Regions from separate parts of the Homo sapiens genome. Here region 1 is linked to region 2. The links are contacts of gene promoters, found by promoter capture Hi-C in human tissues and cell types (Jung and others, 2019). All regions are on one chromosome and are shown on one strand. Each heading gives the region's core, a stretch centred on a gene start or on the middle of the fragment in contact. The rest is flanking DNA. Distances are from core to core; before and after follow the strand shown. Region 1 overlaps IGSF3 (immunoglobulin superfamily member 3). Region 2 holds the start of IGSF3 (immunoglobulin superfamily member 3).

Region 1 (3,770 bases), core at 104-2,603, 90 kb before region 2:
TGGAAGGAAGAAGAAAAACCTAGTCTTCACACCTCCAGGGAGGTAGATATTTCTCTGCACTCTCCAACACCAGGCCCTGGAAACCCCCCTCCCACCCCTCACTGTCCCACCAAACTTAGTGTCAGCCAGCCCCGTGCCCTCCGTCAGGTGTCTGCCATGGCTGCTTTGGCCCTGTGCTCAGCTCAGGGGCCCACTTCCAAGTTCACTGGACACTTTCTTTTAAGAGTTTGGCAAAGCACCTGAAGACACAGGCCCACCTGCTCACAGTTAATCAGTTAGAGACCATCCTTGCAGCTCAGAGCAAGCCAACAGCCAGCCTTTCTCCCTTCCTTCTCTAGTCACTGGCTTTGACAAATCTGCAGGTCAGCAGCTGCTAAAAGCAGCCCCTGCCCACTTTAATTTGGAAAGTGTGTGCCGTTTGGGGCTTCTGACCCATTCTCCAAGACAGTTTTCTTATTTTTTGGCAAGGATGGGATGAAGCCTTTTTTGCCTCCCTGACAGATAGGCCGGGCACCATCTACTCCTAATGGGGTTATGCAGGATTTCTCTTGTACATACACAGTTCTTTGAAGCAAAATTCAGTGCTTTCGTCTTGACTACAAAGTGGTTCCAATAACTCCAGCTGAGGGAAAAGACAACATACAAATTTTGCCCACACTACACACAATTCTTAAGTCTTGTTAAGAAAGTAAAAAACGTTTGGGTATATTTTGATCCATGGGTGGCATTTTCAAATGTGCAAAAACAAAGTCTTGGAAGAGATTCCTTGTCACTAGAAAGTTCGCCCTTCCTTTTGCTGTCAGTTGTACGTAAGAGAAATTCGTCCACATTAAGGAATCCAAAAAGGGTAAACTAAAGGGATTTAAAAAGAGTACATTACAAAGAATAAGAAGCCCTGTAACATCTATCTGAGAATACTAGATAAATCTGTGAGTAGATGTGGCACCTGGAGCTACTCACTACATTACTAAAAACAGAAACAAGAAATCTATAATGGCAGGATCACAACATTTGCGCGCAAATAGCTAACCAACCAAGACTGCCACCGAGAGGCAGTCTGTCTCTGTGACTGACTGGGAACTTGGAACACTTTTCAAGTCTGACAACTTTCCACACACATGCACCCCAGAGTTTGGGTGCTGTCAACTGTCCAATCACAGAGAAAGGGAGAGCCTCAGCTCCTCCGTGGCCAACATCCGCTGGGGCATCACCCGCTTAGTCTATGGCCCCTGGATGGATACTGAGAACAGGGGGCTCCAGGCAAGTAGGGGAGTAGTTGAGGTGTGGCTCTTTGATCCACAGCAGAGGCACCCCATTCTTCCCATCAGAGTTCTTGCTGGAGTTCCGGCTCTTGAAACGCACCAGAAGGATGGTGATGATAAGAATGCCAAAGATGGGGAAAGGGTAGAAGAAGACGAAGTAGAAGAGTGCGTCGTTGGAGCAGATGATGGACTGGAGGGTGGGACCTGAAAAGAATCATGAGAGAGACAAGACAATGAGGGCTGAGAACCTGGACTGCTCACATTTCCTTTTGAAGACCTCACCTGACCCAGTGGAAGCTCCTCGGTGACACTCCCACACCACCTTGTCTTTCCCCTGCTACCATTAATGGTGGAAGATGACCCTTATATTCTTTTTCTCGCAACACCTCTCCTAATTTACGGCTGTATGTTCCAACAAAGCAATGCTTCTGTTTTCCATTGAGAGCCATTATTGCTGCTTGGAAAGCCACATAATGAAACATAATTTATTGATTGTGAACTCAACTGCATCTAGAATGGTGAAGAAGCTGCTCTGGTTCAGTCGGAGCCTCCTGCATGGTTGGATTTTACATGCCCCTTTGCACTTAGTTCTGCTACAGACTTCCTTCTCTGGGATTATGACACAATCCCTTCCTGCCAGCTTCTGAGAGCAGTTTTACCAGAAATGACACTTACCTGATTAATGTTATCAATTAAATGTCATTATGGACCACTTACAAACGTCCACAGTGTGTCCGTGGCCACAAAGAACACAGTATTAGTTATAGCTGGATATGGAAGAGAATAAACCAGGCGCCCCAAGACAGGTTGAGGGCTGCTCTATAAGTCATTAGACCTTGGCAGGAGCCTAGCCTCTGGGAGCCCCTGTTTTCTCTGTAAAATAAGGCTGCTGGGTGACCTCTGTGCTCGATGAAGCTTAATAATTAGGGACATCCACAATGGACAGGTAAAATGTTGCCTAGACTGCTTTGTTTTCGCTTTGAGGCAGTGGGTTATTCAGTGGATCACAGGGTGGTCTATGTATGATGCAGCCTGCTTTCCCTTTTACTGAATAGCTGTTGCTCATCAGTATTATTAAGAACATTTAATCTGCCTGTTATTCAATTTCCAAAGTGTATGAAACTGCTGATAGTCCACCATTGTTGACCTGCAAAACTCCAATTTCATATGGTTCTAACACAATGTGAGCACGGGGTGATCAAGGCAAAAAAATAGTGGCCCAAACTTTAAAAACTCAAATCAAGATGATGTTGAAAAATGTTTTGACTAAAAAGAAGTTAAAAATTCCAGCAATCTTTTTTTTCTTTCTGTATTCTAGGCTAATTCTACTATAACACCATTTTTAGTCTAATGTAGTCCACATTTTGATGGCAAGCCAACCAAGAGTGCATTGTTACAACAAATAATTCAGGCCAGCAATACTTCCCCCAGTCTCTGTTCATAGTGGAAGTCCCTCAGGATCATGGAAACTGCATTCTGGGCAGCTGCAAATCCATCCCCTCTCAGCTCTCCTCTAATATCACAGCCCTTCTAGGCTGGTCCTCCCAACCATACAAGATCCACCTCAACCTCCAAGGCACCCTCCAAAATAACAATAACGCAGAAACTGGACAAAAAGAAATAATGACAGTGAGGTAGTCAGCCTTCATTTTTTTCCCTTTCCCTTGTGAGTCTGAAACGCTTGCTAATTCGCTAAAGACTAGTTCCAATATTCTAAAAAATAACAAAGTAACACCTAACAATATACTAGTATAATGAAATATTACTAAAATTGAATCTGGTAGAACATCGAGTTTATTATAAAGATTATATGGTATGTTATCACTTTAATTTCTATCCCTATTTTTGCATGGGTAATCAAGGGTCAATTATATGAACTAATATGTCCAATCCCACCATATCTCAAATCCTACTAATAAATGCCCATGACAGTTAAGAAAACTGTTTATTAACCCATAATCAAGCTCAAATTTATCTTCCAGACACAGTTGGAACCAACAGTGACATCCTCCCTCTGTACTTGGGAAACTCACTTGTATCTAGAACACGGATGCCGATGGGGGCTGACTCCTCCTCCGTCAGCCGGTACCATTCCTTCTGAGGGCTGGGCAGCCACTCCTCCACATGGCAGGAGTAATTGCCTGTATCTTGGGGGCTTGCCTGCAGCACTGTGAGCCGGTAGAGCACCGGGGAGAGCCTCTGGAAGCGAAGCCTGCCCTCCCAAGGACTGCCCTCTGGGCCAAAGACAGCATCTGGGCCCACGCTCAGCAGGGCCGTCCGCTCTGTTGGGTCGTCGTCGTCGTCGTCGTCCTCCTCCTCCTCCTCCTCCCTTTCCTCTTCCTGTTCTTCCAGGCCAGGGCTGCTCCTTTTCCCCCCAGCTTTAGTCCTCAGGGAATACCAGGCCACAGCGAAGCGGGAGTCCTGGCTGGAGCGGGACACGATGCTACAGTCCAGCTGGAAAGCTGCCTTCTCAGAGACCGTGGCATTGGGGACCACTGTGTCCACCTG
Region 2 (3,655 bases), core at 1-2,500:
GAGGGAGTTGGGGGGAAGGGGAGGAGTGGAGGCAAGTGTGAAAACTCCCCTATGCTACAGGAAGGGTCCACAACAATTCGGAAGTCGCTCCCGGCTCCTGCCACATCGTGTGCCTTGCAGTTTCCACTGAAATTGCAGACTGTAGTGGATTAATCCTCCAGAAGCACGGAAAAAAGGGTCTGAGAAAATCCTTTCATCCACTGATTATACAGAAATGTCCTTGGCTTCTCAGTGAAGGTGTCTGTGATCTCCCTCATTCGGATTCCCCAGAGAGAACAGGGCAGGTTTCGTCAAAACCTTTGACGGCCAAATCACCCTGCCTGGCATCAACCGTTTGGGTTTCTTCACCAAAAAGTCCGTTTCCATCCATGGTGGTAGGTCACGGAGGCGCCACCTGCCCCACGCCTGCCTAGGGCACACGAAGCAAGTTGGCGTTCGGCAGCCCTGAAGCGGTACCCCAGCGCGAGCAGATTTCTAAAACAAACACAACAGAGATTTTTATCAAAGGCAAAGCTGCAAAACCCACTGGGGCTGAGCGCTGAGCTGGTCCGGACACCTGGGTCCGGTTCCTGGACCAGGACAGTCAACCTCTGCATTCTGACCTTGGGCAAGTCTCTGTCTTTCCCTCCGCCTCAGTTTCCCTGCCCAGAGCAGGGCAACAGTGGGAAGCCCGATTGTTCCTGAAATACTTCCACCAAATGCTTCACTCCTGGGAATTCCCGTCACCTCCTACCGAGCCCGGGCGCCGCAGGTAGCCCCACCCTCCGCCAGGGCAAATCGGGAAGGGGCTCCGCGGTGGGGCCGCGACTCCCGGCCCCCGCCCCAACCGTGGGAGCTCTGCGCGCGACGCGTCCCAGGTGGCCCCGCTATTGTTTTACCTTGCAGGGTGTTTATATCTCGCTGATTGGAAAGAAAAGAAACCGGGGAAGAAGGGAGTCCGGAGCTCCGCTTTCAGCTGCCGGAGCGCGCTCGCAGCGCGCCCGCCCAGCCAGGGGAGGGGTCTCGGGCCCGACCCGGAGCTCAGCCGGCGCGGGCCCGCTCCCCACTCCCCGCTCCCCGCTCCCCGCTCCACGCCTCCCCGCCTCCCTCCCCGGGGCCCCCTCCGGGCGCCGCCCGCGCCCCCGCCGAGCCTGACCTCGCCCCTGGCCCTCTCCCTCCGCGCGCGTCGGACCGTCCTTCAGTCCATCCAGGCGCACGCCTCAGGGGACGCGCCGCTTCCTCTTCTCCCGCAACGGCACCAGCAGCCGCGCTGCGGCCCCTCCCGAGTCCCCGCCCCTCCAGCTCCAGCCCGGCCCGCCGCACTCGGCGAGGCGAGCGCGGGGCCAGGGCGGCGGCCTCGAAGAGAGGCCCGGCCCCGCCCCCGGCCCCGCCCCTGGAGACGCGAGTCCCGGCCCCGGGCCTGGCGGGGGCATGAGGGTGGCCCGGGGCACCGGAGGACCTGGGCAGGGCTGGCGTGTGGGCCGAGCAGCCCGGCAAGTTAATCAGGGCTTCACACCCAGACTCCGGGGCCGCCGGCGAGATGTACAGGCCCTTCCCAAAGCCCAGCTGGCCACCCATAACCTGGGAAGCCGGCGGCACAGAAGCTCGTCCTTCCTCCTGGAAACAAAAACAAAGCCCTTTGGAGACTTGAATCTGTTCACGAAGTGGAACCCCATATTGCACTTCACTCTTGGATAGAATTTGGACTCTGGAAACAGCCTGGGTTCTAACGCCGGTTCCTCCACTTCCTCGCTGTGGCCCTTGGCAAGTTACTTAACCTCTCTGTGCCTCAATTTCCCCATCTGCTATGTGGAGGAAATAACCCTTACTTAAGAGGGTTATGGGAGAAATCTGTGACATACTTGTAAAGCATTTAGAATGGTGCCTGATACATCACAAGTGGTCAGTAAATATAAGCTATTATTATTTTATGACCAACCGCCCTGTAAAGCAAGTGCTTTTTCGTTTTCTCACTACTTACCCAACACACACAACTTGCTGGGTAGACACCGTCACGAGGCGACCAAAGCAGAATAGACCGCCCTGCCCTCATGCAACTTGCAGTCTAGTGGGGACACAGACCATAAAATAGACATGACAAGAAAAGTACAGTGTTGAGGAAGCAAATGCAGAGACCCCAACCCTGTGTTATTGGGGGAGGGGCAAGGAGGAGGGAGCTTTGGTCGGGGTAGGTCCCAGGCTTCTCAGAGGAAAGGAAAACTCGGTTGAATGCCAAAGAACAGAAGGCAGCAGCAGAGGAAGAGACAGAGGGGAGGTAAGGAATCGCAGACTGAAGAAACAGCACCTCTGCAGGCCCAGAAAGGAGCCCAGTTAGAGGACCAGGACAGTCTGCTGGGCCCAAACTTGACTGTAGGAGAGAAGTGACAAGAAATGAGCTGAGAAGAAATCGAGTGCCAGAACCTAGAGGGCATTGTATGGTGTGTTAAGGGGTTGGGACCATTGGGAAGCCACTGAAGGTGTTGAGTAAGGGACTATGGTTATCAGATATACGTTTTATTTTTCATTTTATTTTAAGAGACAGGTTCTCACTCTGTGACCCAGGCTGGAATGCAGTGGTGTAATCTTGTCTCACTGCAACCTCCACCTCCCGGGTTCAAGTGATTCTCCTGCCTCAGCCTCCTGAGTCACTGGGACTACAGGCGTGCACCACCACACCCGGATAATTTTTGTACTTTTAGTAGAGACAGTGTTTCACCATGTTGGGCAGCCTGGTGTTGAACTCCTGACCTGGTGATCTGCCCGCCTCAGCCTCCCAAAGTGCAGAGATTACAGGCATGAGCTACTGTGCCCAACCAGGAATCTTTCCTTGTGTGTTAATTATTACCTCTTTCCCAGAGACACCCGTGACTCTGGCAGCTCTCAGTTCCCATTTGCTAGACTCCTTCATTTATTTATTGAGCACCTACTACGTGTTAAGAAAAGTCTCTGCTCTCATGAAGCTTACATTCTGGTGGGAAACACAGACAATGAAACAAGTATATAATATAATGTAACGTGTTCTGAAGAAAAGTGGAGTATAGAAATGTGTGGGCGGGCACAGTGGCTCATGCCTATAATCCCAGCACCTTGGGAGGCCAAGGCAGGGGGATCACTTGATGTCAGGAGTTCGAGACCAGCCTGGCCAACATGGCGAAACCCTGTCTCTACAAAAAATACAAAAATTAGCCAGCCGTGGTGGTGCACACTTGTGGTCCCAGCTACTTGGGAGGCTGAGGCATGAGAATCGCTTGAACCTGGGAGGCAGAGGTTGCAACGAGCTGAGATCACACCACTGCAGTCCAGCCTGGGCAACAGAGCGAGAGTATCTCCAAAACAAACAAACAAACAAATAAAAAACAGAAAGGAAAAGAAATAGTGTGTATGTTTGGGGGTTCCAGTGGGAAGAAGGACTCTTTGCTAGGTGAGGTGGTCAGAAAAGACCCCTCAGAGGAAGTGACATTTGAGCGAGACCTGATTACAGGGAGTGTGTGAGCGCTGGAGATTTCTGGAGTAAGAAGATTCCAAGTGCAGGGAACAGCAAGTGCAAAGCCCCATAACATGTTCAGAAAATTAAAGGTGTGTTAGTGTGTCTGAAATGGCATAAAACAGAAGGAGAAGGAGGAATGTGATCAGAGAGGTCAAAGAGGCCAAATCTAGTAGGACCTTCTAACCTGAG

Evidence for each region. Contacts are between HindIII fragments. The study calls those that stand out against the background at their distance.
Region 1: a contact is called between a fragment that was not itself captured here and the fragment with the promoter of IGSF3 in region 2, in 4 of the 25 tissues and cell types used here (bladder, liver, lymphoblastoid cells and 1 more).

What each region holds. Positions count from the first base shown.
Region 1 is chr1:116,576,097-116,579,866 of GRCh38, forward strand. It overlaps IGSF3 (immunoglobulin superfamily member 3), which reads right to left. Exons shown (of 11, transcript NM_001007237.3): 10 at 3,296-3,770; 11 at 1-1,466. The coding sequence ends at 1,216. Among named protein-coding and RNA genes, the nearest start is that of CD58, 7.0 kb to the left of the region's middle. The HindIII fragment of the contact is 7,997 bases long and covers 1-3,770 here.
Region 2 is chr1:116,666,483-116,670,137 of GRCh38, forward strand. It overlaps IGSF3 (immunoglobulin superfamily member 3), which reads right to left and starts at 1,251. Exons shown (of 11, transcript NM_001007237.3): 1 at 1,136-1,251; 2 at 1-474. RefSeq lists a silencer at 1,096-1,485. The HindIII fragment of the contact is 6,759 bases long and covers 1-3,655 here.